2 separate regions of the Homo sapiens genome follow, and region 2 is linked to region 1. The links are contacts of gene promoters, found by promoter capture Hi-C in human tissues and cell types (Jung and others, 2019). All regions are on one chromosome and are shown on one strand. Each heading gives the region's core, a stretch centred on a gene start or on the middle of the fragment in contact. The rest is flanking DNA. Distances are from core to core; before and after follow the strand shown.

Evidence for each region. Contacts are between HindIII fragments. The study calls those that stand out against the background at their distance.
Region 2: the fragment with the promoter of KRTAP19-2 here is called in contact with a fragment that was not itself captured in region 1 in 1 of the 25 tissues and cell types used here (H1 embryonic stem cells).

Annotation. Positions count from the first base shown.
Region 1 is chr21:30,722,294-30,729,956 of GRCh38, forward strand. It overlaps LOC105372773 (a long non-coding RNA gene), which reads right to left and starts at 3,453. Exons shown (of 3, transcript XR_937655.3): 1 at 3,224-3,453. The HindIII fragment of the contact is 3,137 bases long and covers 1,915-5,051 here.
Region 2 is chr21:30,482,761-30,490,423 of GRCh38, forward strand. It overlaps KRTAP19-2 (keratin associated protein 19-2), which reads right to left and starts at 4,676. Exons shown (of 1, transcript NM_181608.2): 1 at 4,283-4,676. The coding sequence starts at 4,588. The coding sequence ends at 4,430. The HindIII fragment of the contact is 4,878 bases long and covers 516-5,393 here.

The DNA.
Region 1 (7,663 bases), core at 2,233-4,732:
TAGAAAGAAGAAAATAAGCAATTTATTATTCTACTAGATATTTTATAATTCACTTTGTTAGATTTAATTTATCTCATTCTCCAAAATATTCATGTAAAAATTAAATACGGTGATAATATTAATAGAAATACCTTTAGTTCAAAGTCAGCATCCATTTAATGTTCACATTTAAATGCATATATAATTTATAAGAGTAGATTATATGCAAAAAATATTTAATCATTATAGATTTATGTAAAAATATATGTTTAATTTTGAAAAAAAGATTGTATTGAAAATAAGTCATATTTCTGTTGTGTTTTCCCTTCAGTCTCAGAAGATGAGGTATTTTTTTCTTCCTTCAAATTATTAGCTCTCCACCAACGTGGTATCCTAACTTGTTTCTACTTTTATTGCTCTATGGCTCTATCTTCATCAGTCTCTTCAAATCTACTCCCTTCTTCTGCCTACTCTTCCCTAAGAGATTTTTAATGTTTTCTTTTGCCAATGCCAGTCACATTTCTTCTCCATGGTTATCGTTGACCTCTGCTGCCACAAGGTATCATTTCCTCTACTTCCAACCCTTTTCAACACCATCCTCATTCTCTTTTTACAACTGTACCTTTCATGTGTTTTCTTCATTTATTCCTCTGACTCTACCCAAACTCTAACTAAGGAGCCCTTCCTAGATTCAATTCCTTGACTTTCTCTCTCTAAATTCTCTTATTAATTTCCCATTTGTACTCCCACTACAATGTCTGACTTACAGAAAGTGATCCATTAAAACTTAAGGAATAAATGTGTGTGAGTAAATATTTTCTCTCACATTTACAGCTTTAAATAAAAAATTAATATCAGTTACTTTCAAATTGATATGTCGTGTACTCTCCTTAAATATACAAATCTTAGCTAGATAATTTTTTTGAATGTATTATTACCTCAAATCAACATATCCAAAACCAGATACATCTCTCTGGCAAAACTAAATTTTAAAAATATTTCTCCCTGTTAATAACATTTCCTTTCTTGATGAATACCCACATTCAAAAGTACCACATTTATGCATTTGTTTATGTCACTGAAACAAATCATTTTCCATACAAAATTTTGGTATCTATTTTCTTACTCTTACTGCAACAGGCTTAATTCTGGTCCTAATCTTCTCACTCTTGGACCCCCCCACCCCAATAAGTCCTTAGCTCCAGGAACTCAATGCATCTTTCGTTTCCACACTGTCCAACCTATTCTGCACATTGTTTCTAAATTTATATTTCCTACATATTACTTTTATCATGCATTTCTTCTGCTTAATATTCTGAATCTCCTACTGTGCTAATTCTATATCCTCTGCCTGGGCTCACAGATCTCTCATAATATACCTCTTCCCCTAACCATTCCAAATCTGTTTACCACTCTAAGTCATGGTAATCATCACATTATTTGTTAAATACATTCATGTGCAAGACACCAACCATTTCCCCTAAACAGCCGATTTAATGCCCATTCTGCCTCTGTCCCCAGTGACTCTCCCACCTTGAATTTCTGATTTTCTAATCTATTAATGCAGTTCTTCCAAGCCCAGTTCATTTCCCCTTCGACAGAAGCTTTCTGCAGTTCCCGGAGTCCTCATTATCTTCCTTTCCTATGAACTCCTGCCAGTCTTTTCATCTGTGACACATAAGCTGTTATATCTCAAGTTTTGTTCTTTTCTACAAATAGGTATGTTAGTCTTGATCTTCCAAATGGATGGTTAGTTCTTTGATCTCAGCAACTATTCTCATCTACACAACACTATCATGGTGCTGACCAAACACATATTAAGTGCTCGATAAATCCCTGTTGATCACCTACTGAACCCAGGTGAAAAAATATATTTTCCATTAATTCATTTGCTCCACTGCAATTTTTAAGAGTTAGAGTTTCTAAAAGTGGAGTGTATGGATCAGCAGTTATCAGCATCACTTGGGAATTTGTTAAAATTGCAGATTTTGAGGTTCTACCCAAAACCTACTAAATCAGAAGGTCTAGGAGTAGGACCCAAAAACTCTATGTTTTTCAAGCACTCTGGTTAATTTAATACACACTATCATTTCAGAACCACTGCCATAGATCAATCGTCTTGTCCTCATAACAAGGTCTCTAGATAAAATAGCAGTGGCCAACACAAAAGGTTAATGGCTTACTGAGCTTTTATTTTTGAGGACATTCTGACCTGTTTAAAACCAGACAAGTGGTGATTAGCAGTGTACTTTCTGTGATTCACAAAGCTTAGACAATAATGGAAACAGGCTATTTGAGCAATCAGTTATCTAAATGAATCTAAAAGGTTTTGCTGTGAAGGTTAATATTCCATGTTTTATCTAACATTTGCCTTGTACCCTCCGCCAAAATTGGTTTAATGTGCAGTTCTGAAACTGGAATCTAAAGTGCAGAGGTTATTGTGGAAAGCTCAATCATCTAGCTGCTACATAAGTCTGAATATTTGTAAAGGTTTTAGAACCCAAATGTTAGATTTTAAGTTTATCATCCACCATCTTTTATGCATATCTTACCAGCTCTGAATAGGGGTGAGATAAGGAACAGAGATCACAGACTCGAGCTGAGGACCCTAGAGAGACTATCTCATGCTCAGGTTTAAGAGAAATTCAGGGGACTCAATGTTGATCTGTATTCTGTTCAGGGGACAAAGTTACCCAAAGGGAAGCCATAAACCCCAGGGCCTTAGCAGTTAATCTCACTTCCACCTAGTTCAATGGTGTGTTACGGTCCTCCCAAGAAAAAATAACAGTAGGATGTGTGTGTCTACATGTAAGTATGTGTATACACATACCTACAGGATGCATGAAGGAAATACATACATACACACACACACACACACACACACAGAGAGAGAGAGAGAAGGAAGAGGTGGAAGAGTGAGGGAGAGAGAGGCAAAGAGGAATGAGAGAGAGAGGAGAGAAAGGGAAAGAGAGGGAGGAGAGAGAAAAAAGAGGGAGAGTGAGGGGGAGAGAGAAAGAGGAGAGTAGAGAGGGAGAGAAAAGAGAGAGAAAAGTGGGGAGGGAGAAAAGGAGGAGGAGTAGAGAGGAGAGAGGCCAGAAGGGAGATAAGCGGGGAGAGAGAGAAGAGAGAGAAGCAAGGAGAGGGAGAGAAATTGGGGGACAATAAAGAGAGAGAGAGAGAAAGGGAGGGAGGGATACAGAGAGACAGAGCGAGAGAAGAGGCAGATTTTAAAGCATTGGCTCACATGATTGTAGGGGCTAGCAAAATCAAAATCTGCTGAGCAGGCTGGAGACCCAGGGAAGAGCTGATCTTGCAACTTGAATGTGAACTCAGGTTGAAGGCAGATTTCCCTCTTCCTCTGGTAGACATCACCCTTTTCTCTTAAGGCCCTCAACTGCCTGGAGGAAGCTCACCCACATTATGGAAGGTACGTGACTTTTCTCAAGTCTGCTGATTAAATGCCAACCTTATCTGAAAAATATCATCATAGCAACCTTTAGACTGGTGTTCGACCAAACATTTGGTCTTTGTAGCTTAGCCAAGTTGACGCATAAAATCAGTCATCAACCGTAAGTCAGAAGCTGAACTGCCTGAATCCTCAGTCATTGTTATAATTTGCATTCTCCACACAAATTTAACTACAGAGATACTTTTGAACTTTAATCTCAATCAAATGGAAAGTACACATTTCCAGGTGGAAGAAAAGAAAGATGGTTTGGCAATTTGGGGAAAATTCTCACTTCTGTGGTCTGGGGCACAATTCTTAGCCAACTTTGAGGTGATAGGGATATCTTCTCAATCATGGATGTGCATTGTATTTCGTGGGAAAACTTTAATAAAATGCCAGTACTCCCATCTCAGACCAATAAAACCAAAATCTCAAAGGTGGGACTCAGGTATTGCCATTTAATGGAATCTGACATGCATTCGGATTTGAGTCACTGCTCTAAATAAAGGAAAGCTTCAAATAAATCTGAAAGTGCAATATCTGAGAAAAGCAATGAATCTGAAATCAAATCAGTCTGAAAGCACAATATCTGAGAAAAGCAATGAGTAGGTACAAGGGGATTGAAAGGCATGGGGAGTGGATGCTGCAAGGCTGAGAAACTTACAGGTAAAAACCATCTCCAACAATGGCGTGGCTGCATTGGAGGCTTTCCTTTCAGCTTCTCTGATCTGTTTTCTCTATTCCTTATCTTTTCTTTTCCATCTTCTCTTCCTTTTAAGTTTTAGGAATGGCAATGACATTGAATTAGGGTTGATGGTGGAGTTTTACCTTTGTTCTCTAACTACTTCTAAGTTTTGGAAGAAACAGGAGGACCCATGTTTCTTCCAAAACTTAGAGGTAGAATTGGAAAACGGGTGAATGTTTTCTTCCAGAACTTAGAGGTGAATGTGGGAAACAGATGAATGCTGGATTACGAAGTCCCAGTGAGGGAGTGGGCTTCAGGAGGTGAAGGTGTACTTCACTGGGATAGCACACATGAAAGGGTATTGAAGATTTGGCAAGGCTTGCTTTTTTGTGAAACATGGCTGGATAGGACTTCAACTTCACAGAGTTGTAGGCTATTCAAAAATAGTCCAGGAACCAGCAGCATTAGGATCACTGTAAACTTGTTAGAAAGGCAAATTCTCAAGCCCCACCCAGAAAAACTGAATCAGCATCTCTGGAATCAGCATGTCTGAGGCCCAGAAATCTGTTTCAGCACAGTCTCCAGTGATTCTTATGCATGCTGAAACTGGAGAACCATAGCTATAAAATAAATGAGTGAAGAGTCTGCTGTCTTGACTTCATCCTGTTTCCAGTCTATTCACTACGAGATTTTATTGGTATTTATTTTGGTGTATTTATTTATAACCAATACCCTTGAGAAATTTATTATTTATTTTTAATATTTTTAGCTGTTCTTTTAGGTTTTCTGAGTCAATAGCCAACTCACCTAGTCTTACATTAGCTGCATGCATTATTTCATCTTATTACCTTATTAATTTTTTTAAATGGTGATGGTGGACACCATTATCTTACTCATTTGTGGGAATTTTTAGGATTTCAACCATAAACTTGATGTTAAAATTTGTCTTGTAAAAGATAAATATTCCTCACAAATTTTACTAATCACTTTTTTTTTTTACTGTGAATGGACGCCGAATTTCATTTAAAAAGAACGGAAATCATAACAAACAGTCTCTCAGACCACAGTGTAATCAAATTAGAACTCAGGATTAAGAAACTCACTCAAAACTGCACAACTACATGGAAACTGAACAACGTGCTCCTGAATGACTGCTGGGTAAATAATGAAATTAAGGCAGAAATAAATAATTTCTTTGAAACCAATGAGAACAAAGACACAATGTACCAGAATCTCTGGGCTACAGCTTAATCAGTGTTTAGAGGAAAATTATTAGCACTAAATACCCACAAAAGAAAGTGGGAAAGATCTAAAATCGACACCCTAACATCACAATTACAAGAACTAGAGCAGCAAGAGCAAATAAATTCAAAAGCTAGCAGAAGACAAGAAATAACTAAAATCAGAGCAGAACTGAAGGAGATAGAGACACGAAAAACCCTTCAAAAAAATCAATGAATCCAGGAGGTAGTTTTTTGAAAAGATGAATAAAATAGATAGCACGCTAGCCAGACTGATAAAGAAGAAAAGAGAGAAGAAGCATCAAATAGACACAATAAAAAATGATAAAGGGGATATCACCACAGATCCCACAGAAATACAAACCACCACCAGAGAATATTATAAACATCTCTACACACAAAAAACTAGAAAGTCTAGAAGAAATGGATAAATTCCTGGACACACACACCCTCCCAAGATTAAACCAGGAACAAGTTGAATCCCTGAATAGACCAATAACAAGTTCTGAAATTGAGGCAGTAATTGATAGCCTACTAACGAAAAAGAAGCCCAGAACCAGACGGATTAACAGCTGAATTCTGCCAGAGGTACAAAGAGGACCTGGTACCATTCCTTCTAAAATTAATCCTAACTATAGAAAAAGAGGGACTCCTCCCTAACTCATTTATGAGGCCAGAATCATCCTGATACCAAAACCTGGCAGAGATACAACAAAAAAAGAAAACTTCAGGCCAATATCCCTCATGAAGATTGATGCAAAAATCCTCAATAAAATACTGGCAAACCAAATCCAGCGACACATCAAAAAGCTTATCCTCCACGATCAAGTCAGCTTCATCCCTCAGATGCAAGGCTGGTTCAACATACGCAAATCAATAAACGTAATCCTTCACATAAACAGAACCAATGACAAAAACCACATGATTATCTCAATAGATACAGAAAAAGCCTTGGATAAAATTCAACACACTTCATGCTAAAAGCACTCAATAAACTAGGTATTGATGGAATGTATCTCAAAATAATAAGAGCTCTTTATGACAAACCAGCAGCCGATATCATACTGAATGGGCAAAAGCTGGAAGCATTCCCTTTGAAAACTGGCAAAAGACAAGAATGCCCTCTCTCACCACTCCTATTCAACATAGTGTTGGAAGTTCTGCCCGGGGCAATCAGGCAAGAGAAAAAAATAAAGAGTATCCAAATAGGAAGAGAAGAAGTCAAATTGTGTCTGTCTGGAGATGACGTGATTGTACATTTGGAAAACTGCATCGTCTCAGCCCAAAAACTCTTTAAAGTGATAAGGAACTTCAGCAAAGTCTCAGGATACAAAAATCAATGTGCAAAAATCACAAGCATTTCTATACACCAATAATAGACAGAGAGCCAAATCATAGTAAACTCCCATTCACAATTGCTACAAAGAGAATAAAATACCTAGGAATACAACTTAAAAGGGATGTGAAGGACCTCTTCAAACAGAACTACAAACCACTGCTCAAGGAAATCAGAGAGGACACAAACAAACGGAAAAACCTTCCAGGCTCATGGATAGGAAGAATCAGTATCGTGAAAATGGCCATACTGCCCAAAGTAATTTATAGATTCAATGCTACCCCCATCAAGCTACCATTGACTTTCTTCACAGAATTAGAAAAAACTACTTTAAATTTCATATGGAACCAAAAAAGAGAGTATATAGCCAGGACAATCCTCAGCAAAAAGAACAAAGATGGAGGCATCACACTACGTGACTTCAAAGTACACCACAAGGCTACAGTAAACAACACAGCATGGTACTGGTACCAAAACAGATACATAGACCAATGGAACAGAACAGAGGCCTCAGAAATGATGCCACACGTTTACAACCATCTGATCTTTGACAAACCTGACAAAAACAAGCAACGGGGAAAGGATTCCCTATTTAATTAATGGTGTTAGGAAAACAGGCTAGCCATATGCAGAAAACTGAAACTGGACCCCTTCCTTACACCTTACACAAAAATTAACTCAAGACGGATTAAAGACTTAAACATAAGACCTAAAACCATAAAAACCCTAGAAAAAAATCTAGGCCATACCATTCAGGACACAGGCATGGGCAAAGACTTCATGACTAAAACATCAAAAGCAATGGCGACAAAAGCCAAAATTGACAAATGGGATCTAATTAAATTAAAGAACTTCTGCATAGCAAAAGAAACTGTCATCAGAGTTAACAGGCATCCTACAGAATGGGAGAAAGTTTTTTCAATCTACCCATCTGACAAAGAGCTAATATCCAGAATATACAAGGAGCTTAAACA
Region 2 (7,663 bases), core at 3,426-5,925, 240 kb before region 1:
AAAACATATGACTATGACATGCATAGCTTATTTTGTCCACTAGCCGTGTAAACTAGAAAAAAAATTTGAAGAATATGTAAAAAATCTGATTTATTTTCTGTATATGCAAGTGAAAAAAGTCTCTGAAATTTCCTTTGAGGGGTTATTCTTTTTCTATCCATTTATTGGATCAAAAGTAGATTTGGATCATTATTGCTTTTTAAGAACTGTTAGCTCATGACCCTATTTTCTACTCATGTTGATAGGTGGAAGAGTGAAAAATGTTCTCACATTTTTCCTGGAAGTAAGGAAATTTTTGTTATAAATTTTCTATCATCTCAGAAATTATTCAATACAACCTTAAACAGCATGAAATTATAAGATTGATTATAGTAATAACAATAGCAGTAACAATTATATTGATTACTGCTTTTCAGCCCCATGGAAACTATCCCTGGGACATTATCCAAATGAGAAGAAAATGCTTCTAGTGAAATCCTATTCTACTGGGTCAGACAATATTGCTGACCTCCCATAGAGTTACTTTGCTGTATTTCCCCTGTTCAGCCCATTGTTGTAGTACACAGAATGCCCTGAGAGCATTGACTCAAAGAAGAGGTCATGGCGCTTTGTTTTGTTTTTTAACTTAGAGTCTGATTTTAACATTGCTCATTGGTTAGTTACAATCAGAAGTAGATAAACTAAAATTTGATTGGTTTAATTCTGTATATCGCAACAATAAAAATGAAACATCAATGTTAATGTAAGAAAAAGGGCCAACCTTCATAAAAGCAGTTGAGATAATTTAGCTTTTCTTACAACTATGACCAGAACTTTCAGAATGGTTATCTGACAACAATCAAGAAGAAAATGCATAAAAGGTGAGTCTGCAAAGTATAGTCTAAAACCTGGGACTCAGGATGGCATGATTCTGATCCTAGTCTTGGCACCAATTATGACAAAAATAACATATTCTGAATTTCTGTGCCTCCAAAATTGGAATACAGCGTTGCAGAATTGTAATGCCTCTTTCTGCTCCTTGTGTGATTTAATTTTTGTCCTCATTTTATTACATTTGGCGAGCTTGTACAAAACATCTGTAGGCACATATCATTGCCTGAAATTCTGTTTTATAAAAACAATATTGTTTTGGCCATTTCTTGAAAGGATGAGGTTTCACTGAAATTTATCTTCATATGTATATATATATGTGTGTGTGTATATATATATATATGTATAGAGAGAGAGAGAGAGAGAAGTATGTATACATAATGATATTGATATAAGACATATAGAAATATATAAAATGATATTTGTATAAAATATATACATTATATACAATATATACTATATATGTATGTATTATATATTTTATATATAATATATAATAAATAAATTAATATTTCATTAATATTTAAACATATACTTCTATATATTAATAAATATAAATAACAAATTATCAATAATCATATTGAAATATAAATAAAATAATATTTATTATTCATAATACATATAAATATAAAAATATATTTATTTATATTTAATATATAAATTTATGTAATATTTAAATATATACTCCTATATATTTAAATGTAATATTTAAATATATACTCCTATATATTTAAATGTAATATTTAAATATATACTTCTATATATTTAAATATACATACTTCTATATATTTAAATATTAAATGACACTTTTAGTCAGTTGAAACTACAGAATATTTTGCCTCATAATAATGTTTCTGTGTGTTTATAGTCCCTACTGCATTACAAATCCTTCAGTATAATGATGATAATAAAGAACACAATATTCCTATAAAAAGACAAGTGAAATGAGTTGAATGACTACAATTCACATTTTATTATCCAGTTTATCAAGGACTTTTAGGTCAGGCTTGTTGTACATGCATAACAAACTAGATGAAAGCAGAAAATTATGAATAAAAGAAGATTATAGATAATGCAAAGATTCATAGAAAAAGAGAGTTCACTTCTCTTTAAGTTTTAGGGATATAGATTATAAGATTTGTGAGAAGAAAGTTTGTTTTTATTACAGTTTTAATGATATGAATGTTGTGATGCTTAATTTTAAGTGTCAATTTGACTCTGTTAAGGGATGCTGGGATAGTTGGTAAACTATTTCTGGGTTGTCTGTGAGGGTTTTTCCAGAAGGATTCATATTTTAATCTGTAGACTGAGTAAAGATCACTCTTACCAGTGTATGTGAGCATCATTTAATCTGTTGAAGACCTAAATAGAACTAAATGGGGAAGGCAAAGGGAGTTTGCTCTCTGAGCTGGGATCTTCATCCTCTCCTATCCTCACACATCAGCATTCCTGGTTAGAGCATTTGGTCTCAGATTGAAACTTAACATCATTGACTCCCCTGTTCTCTAACTTTTGGGTTTGGACTGGAAGTACTAGACCAGCTTTCCTGGGCCTCTAACTTGCAAACAGAAGATCATGAGACTTCTCAGCCTCCATAATTGCATGAGTTCTTCCCTAACAGTAAATATTCTTCTGTATATCTATGTATATCCTATTGATTCTGTGAAATGCTTTATATGTGTGTCCCTGCCCATATCTCATGTCAAATTGTAACCCCTACTGTTGGAGGAGGGGCCTGGTAGAAGGTGATTGGGTATGGGGGCAATGTCTGATGGTTTGGCATCATCCTCCTACTGCTGTCTTGTGATGGGGTTCTCCCGAGATCTGCTTATTTAACAGTGTGTAGCACCTCCCTTGACCTCTCTCTCCTGCTGACCATGTGAAGATGTGCTTGCTTCTCCTTTGCCTTTCACCATACTTGAAAGTTTCCTGAGGCCTCTCTAGGAGAAGCCTGTGCAGCCCACAGAACTGTGAGCCAATTAAACTTATTTACTTTATAAATTACCCAGTCTCAGGTATTTCTTTATAGCAGTGTGACAATGGACTAATACAGAAAATTGGTACCAGAGAAGAAGGACATTGCTATAAAGATACTTGAAAATGTGGAACGACTTTGGAACTGGGTAACAGGCAGAGGTTGGAACAGTTTGGAGAGCTCAGAAGAAAAGAAGATGGGAGAAAGTTTGGAACTTCCTAGAGATTTGTTAAATTGTTGTCACCAAAACGCTGATAGTGACATGGACAATAAAGCCCAAATGAGGTGGTCTCAGATGGAGGTGAGAAACTTATTGGGAACTGGAGAAAAGGTCACACTTACTATGCTTTAGCAAAGAGACTGGCAGCACCGTGCCTGTGCTCTAGGGATCCGTTGAGCTTTGAACTTGAGGGAGACAATTTAGGGTATCTGGCAGAAGAAATTTCTAGGCAGCAAATCATTCAAGATGTAATATGGCTACTTCTAACAGCATACCCTCATATGCTTGAACAAAGAGATTATCTGAAGCTGGAACTTATATTTCCAGAGCATAAAAGGGAAACATAGCATAAAAGTTTGGAAAATTTGCAGCCCAGCCATGTCATAGAAAATGAAATCTCATTGTTTGGGGAGAAATTCAAGCCTGCTGCAGAAATTTGCATAAGTAGAGAGGAGCCAAATGTTAATAGCCAAGACAATGGAAAAATGCCTCCAAGTCATTTCAGAGACCATTGCAGCAGCCCTTTCACCACAGGCCTGGAGGCCTAGGAGGGAAAAATGATTTTGTTGGCCAGGCCCAAGGACCCACTGCTCTGTGCAGCCTTGGGACATGTTGCCCTGAGTCCCAGACACTCAAGCTCCAGCCATCGGTAAAAGGGCTCCAGATACATCTCAGGCTGATGTTCCCAAGTGTGCAAGCGAGGAGCTGCCAAGGTTTTCACATGGTGTTAAGCCTGTGGGTGCACAGAGGGCAAGAGTTGAGGCTTGGGAGCTCCTGCCTAGATTTCAGAGGGAGTAAGAAAATACCTAGATTTCCAGGCAGAAGTCTGCTACAAGTGTGGAGCCCTCATGGAAAACCTCTACTAGGGCAATGTGGAGGGGAAATGTGGGTTTAGAGCCCCCACCCAGAGTCCCTACTGAGACACTGCCTAGTGGAGCTCTGAGAAGAGGGTCACCATCCTCCAGACCCCAGAATGGTAGATCCACAGACAGCTTCCACTGTGTGCCAGGAAAAGCTGCAGATACTCAATGCAAGCCTGTGAAAGCAGCCAGGAGAACTATACCCTGCAGAGCCACAGAAGTGGAGCTGCCCAATGCCCTGGGAGTCTACCCATTGCATCGATGTGGCCTGGGTGTGAGACATGCAGTAAAAGGAGATTATTTTGAAGCTTTAATATTTAATGACTGCCCTGCTGGGTTTTGGACTTGTTTGGGGTCTTATAGCCCCTTTGTTTTGGTCAATTTCTCCCTTTGGAATGGGAGCATTTACACATTTACACCTTTACCCCCATTGTATCTTAGAAGTAAGTAACTTGTTTTTAAATCCCTTCAAAATAACAGATGCTGCATCACTAGAGCAGCAGCTTAGTAGAAGCCAGTGAATCTATATCTTCTGTAGCATGATGGGCAGCAGCAGCCATCTCCACAGCCTCTGTGGCCACAACCATATCTGCATCCTTCATAGCCGCAGCCATAGCCCAGTCTGCAGAAGCTGCCACATCCACAGCCGTAGCCATAGCACATGCCACCAAAGCCTCCACAGCCATAGCCCAGACCTCCACAGTAGCTGCCCTAGTAGCTCACGGTGTCAGAGATAGTGAGTTGGGTTTGCTGTCCCAGGCAAGGTCCTGAGTGTGAATATAGCATGTTTAGGGAACGCTTATATACCCTGAGCAGAACATGTGATAAACATGTGGCCATCCTTTTGCAGCATCCCAATTTATTTATCTACTCTATACAAATAATCAATCTGTTTGTTAGCACAAGGAGAGACACAAACTCATTAAAATCTTTGAGCTGGCTTAGCTGCATGGTTAGAATGCCCTTGAACTTATTACATTTTTTTTTTAAGATGGAGTCTTGCTCTTGTCACCCAGGCTGGAGTGCAATGTTGTGATTTCAGCTCACTATAAACTCCACCTCCTGGGTTCAAGTGATTCTCCTGCCCCAGCCTCCTGAGTAGCTGGGATTACAGGTGTCTGCCACCACTCTCAGCTAATTTTTATATTTTTAGTAGAGACAGGGTTTCACCATGTTGGCCAGGCTGGTCTCGAACTCCTGACTTCAGGTGATCCACACACCTTGGCTTCCCAAAGTGCTGGCATTACAGGCTTGCGCCACTGCGCCCAGCTGATACATTCTTTTTAATGATAAAATAGTCTGCATCTTCAAAGTTACACAATTTTTAAAAAATCCTAAATTCTTCATCACTATGCATATTGAATTATTTGTATTTGACACTGTGTTTTTATTAAATGTTTTCTCATTTCTCATTTTTACACCATTCCTTAGATTGTTCTATTTTACCTCCACCTAGATTCAAATAAATCGATCAAGTTTAAAACTTTTAAATCTAGTAAAGCCTTCAAATATCAAATATTTTTATTGCGTTGAGAAATTAAGGCTATTCCTCCTTCAAAAGAAAAGGAAGTTTTTGAATAAATAAATTTTCTTATCAGCTGTGGTAAACACAAAGTAATGGAAAATATGTATGTAGACATAATATAAAACTACTTTAATTTTCTATATCAGCTTGCAAAACATTGTTTTGGCTTATCAATGTAACAAAATTTATTCCAGAAACTGATATATTATCCAAGAGAATAAACTCAGTTTTACACCAGCCTGAACAGCAGTTCAAAGATATTCTCTTCAGGTGGGGCACAGTGGCTCACCCCTGTAATTCTGGAGGCCAAGGTGAGAAGATCACTTGAGATCAGGTATATTAGTTTGTTTTCACACTGCTGATAAAGACATACCTGAGACTGGGAAGAAAAATAGGTTTAATTGGACTTACAGTTCCACATGGCTCTGGAGGCCTCAGAATCATGGCAGGAGGTGAAAGGTACTTCTTACATGGTGGCGGCAAGAGAAAATGAGAAAGAAGCAAAAGCGGAAACCCCTGATAAACCCATCGGATCTCATGAGACTTACTCACTATCATGAGAATAACAAGGGAAAGACCAGCCCTCATGATTCAATTACTTCCACCTGGATCCCTCCCACAACACATGGGAATTCTGGGAGATACAATTCAAGTTGAGATTCGGATGGGGACATGGCCAAACTATATCACCAGGAGTTTGAGAGTAGCCTGGGCAACATAGGGAGACCTTGTCTCCACCAAAAAATCAAAAAATAGCCAGGTGTGAGGTGCACACCTGTGGTTCCAGCTACTCGGGAGGCAAAGGCAGGAGGATTGTTTGATCCCTGGGAGGTCAATGCTGCAGTGAGCCATGATCATGCCACTGCGCTCCAGCCTGGGTAACAGAGTGAAACTGTCTAAAACAGACACATACACACACACACACACACACACACACGAAAACAATCAAGTCTATTTTTATCGTTACACAATTTTCCAGAACTGGCTCTAAATAAAGTATTACCTAGAAACTCAGATGAGCTTGGCTTCATGCTTTACAGATACCACTTTTCTTCCACTTCCTACTCTTCCTCACTATGTATATATCAGTTCTCTTTATCAAAGCTTTTCATTTTATGCTGCATTCATTCCCAATATGTACTAGTGCCAAGCAGGTATTTCTTCTTATCCATTTTTTTCTAATCAGTATTTTACCCTTCTACCCATATATTTAATTTTATCACAATATTTTTGTCCTTATGTTTTCTTTTCCAATTCTGTGTGCCTCATCTTCCTACTTTCTCTCAACCAGCAAACATAAGACATTATTTATTTATTAAGGTTATACATTTTTAAACAATATTTTATATGACTCTTAGAGTCATATAATACATCTAACAGTCTCTTAAAATTCTGATGCCTTGAAAATCTCAAATGCGAATGTGCAGTGGTGAAATAACTGAGATAGGAAGCAAGGATGTGAGGAGGGCTGGCCATGCTCCACAGATTTTCTGTGCTTACTCTAGGAAGATAGTAAATCAATCCCAAGTTTAGCTCCACCAAAATATGACCATATATTGGATTTGGGTCCTTAAGCAATACTTTGCTTTACAAGACTTTAAACATTTTGCCAAGAGTATTTTTTGTTGTTTTGTTTTCTGTTTTGCTTTGTTTTGAGGTCTATAAGCAACATTTTTGATAATGCGTTTTCTCAACTTGATTTGTTCACTATTCTTCCAAAAAATTTGTTGGATAAATGAAAGAATGAATTTTGCCTGCCTCAACATGTAGTGCATATCTAAGGTGGAATATGCACTCAAAATGGCTTTCAGGTTTTAAATGAATATTTAACTCAATATTTGCCATGGTTGTTTTCTCCTTTATCAAAATTAATTCCACCTTTATTTTCGTTCTGAAAAAGAAAACTGGACAATGTTTAAATTCTCAATGAGTAGTTGTTGAAGACAAACAATAATAAGTAAGTCTAACTACTTTAAGAATCTCATGAATTATTGGGTAAACCTGCAAGATTTTCTAACCCTCATGAAAGGCTAATGTACATTGCTATTTCCGATGCATATAACCATCTCCAAGAGAAATATAATCCAATAGATTTTACAAATTAAAGGCAAATTTTATTATTTATTACAAATAAAATATATTTAATAAAATATGCCCTGCTTTTCTTATGTATTTTCAAATAACAAAATAATAAGATATACTTCATTGTGATA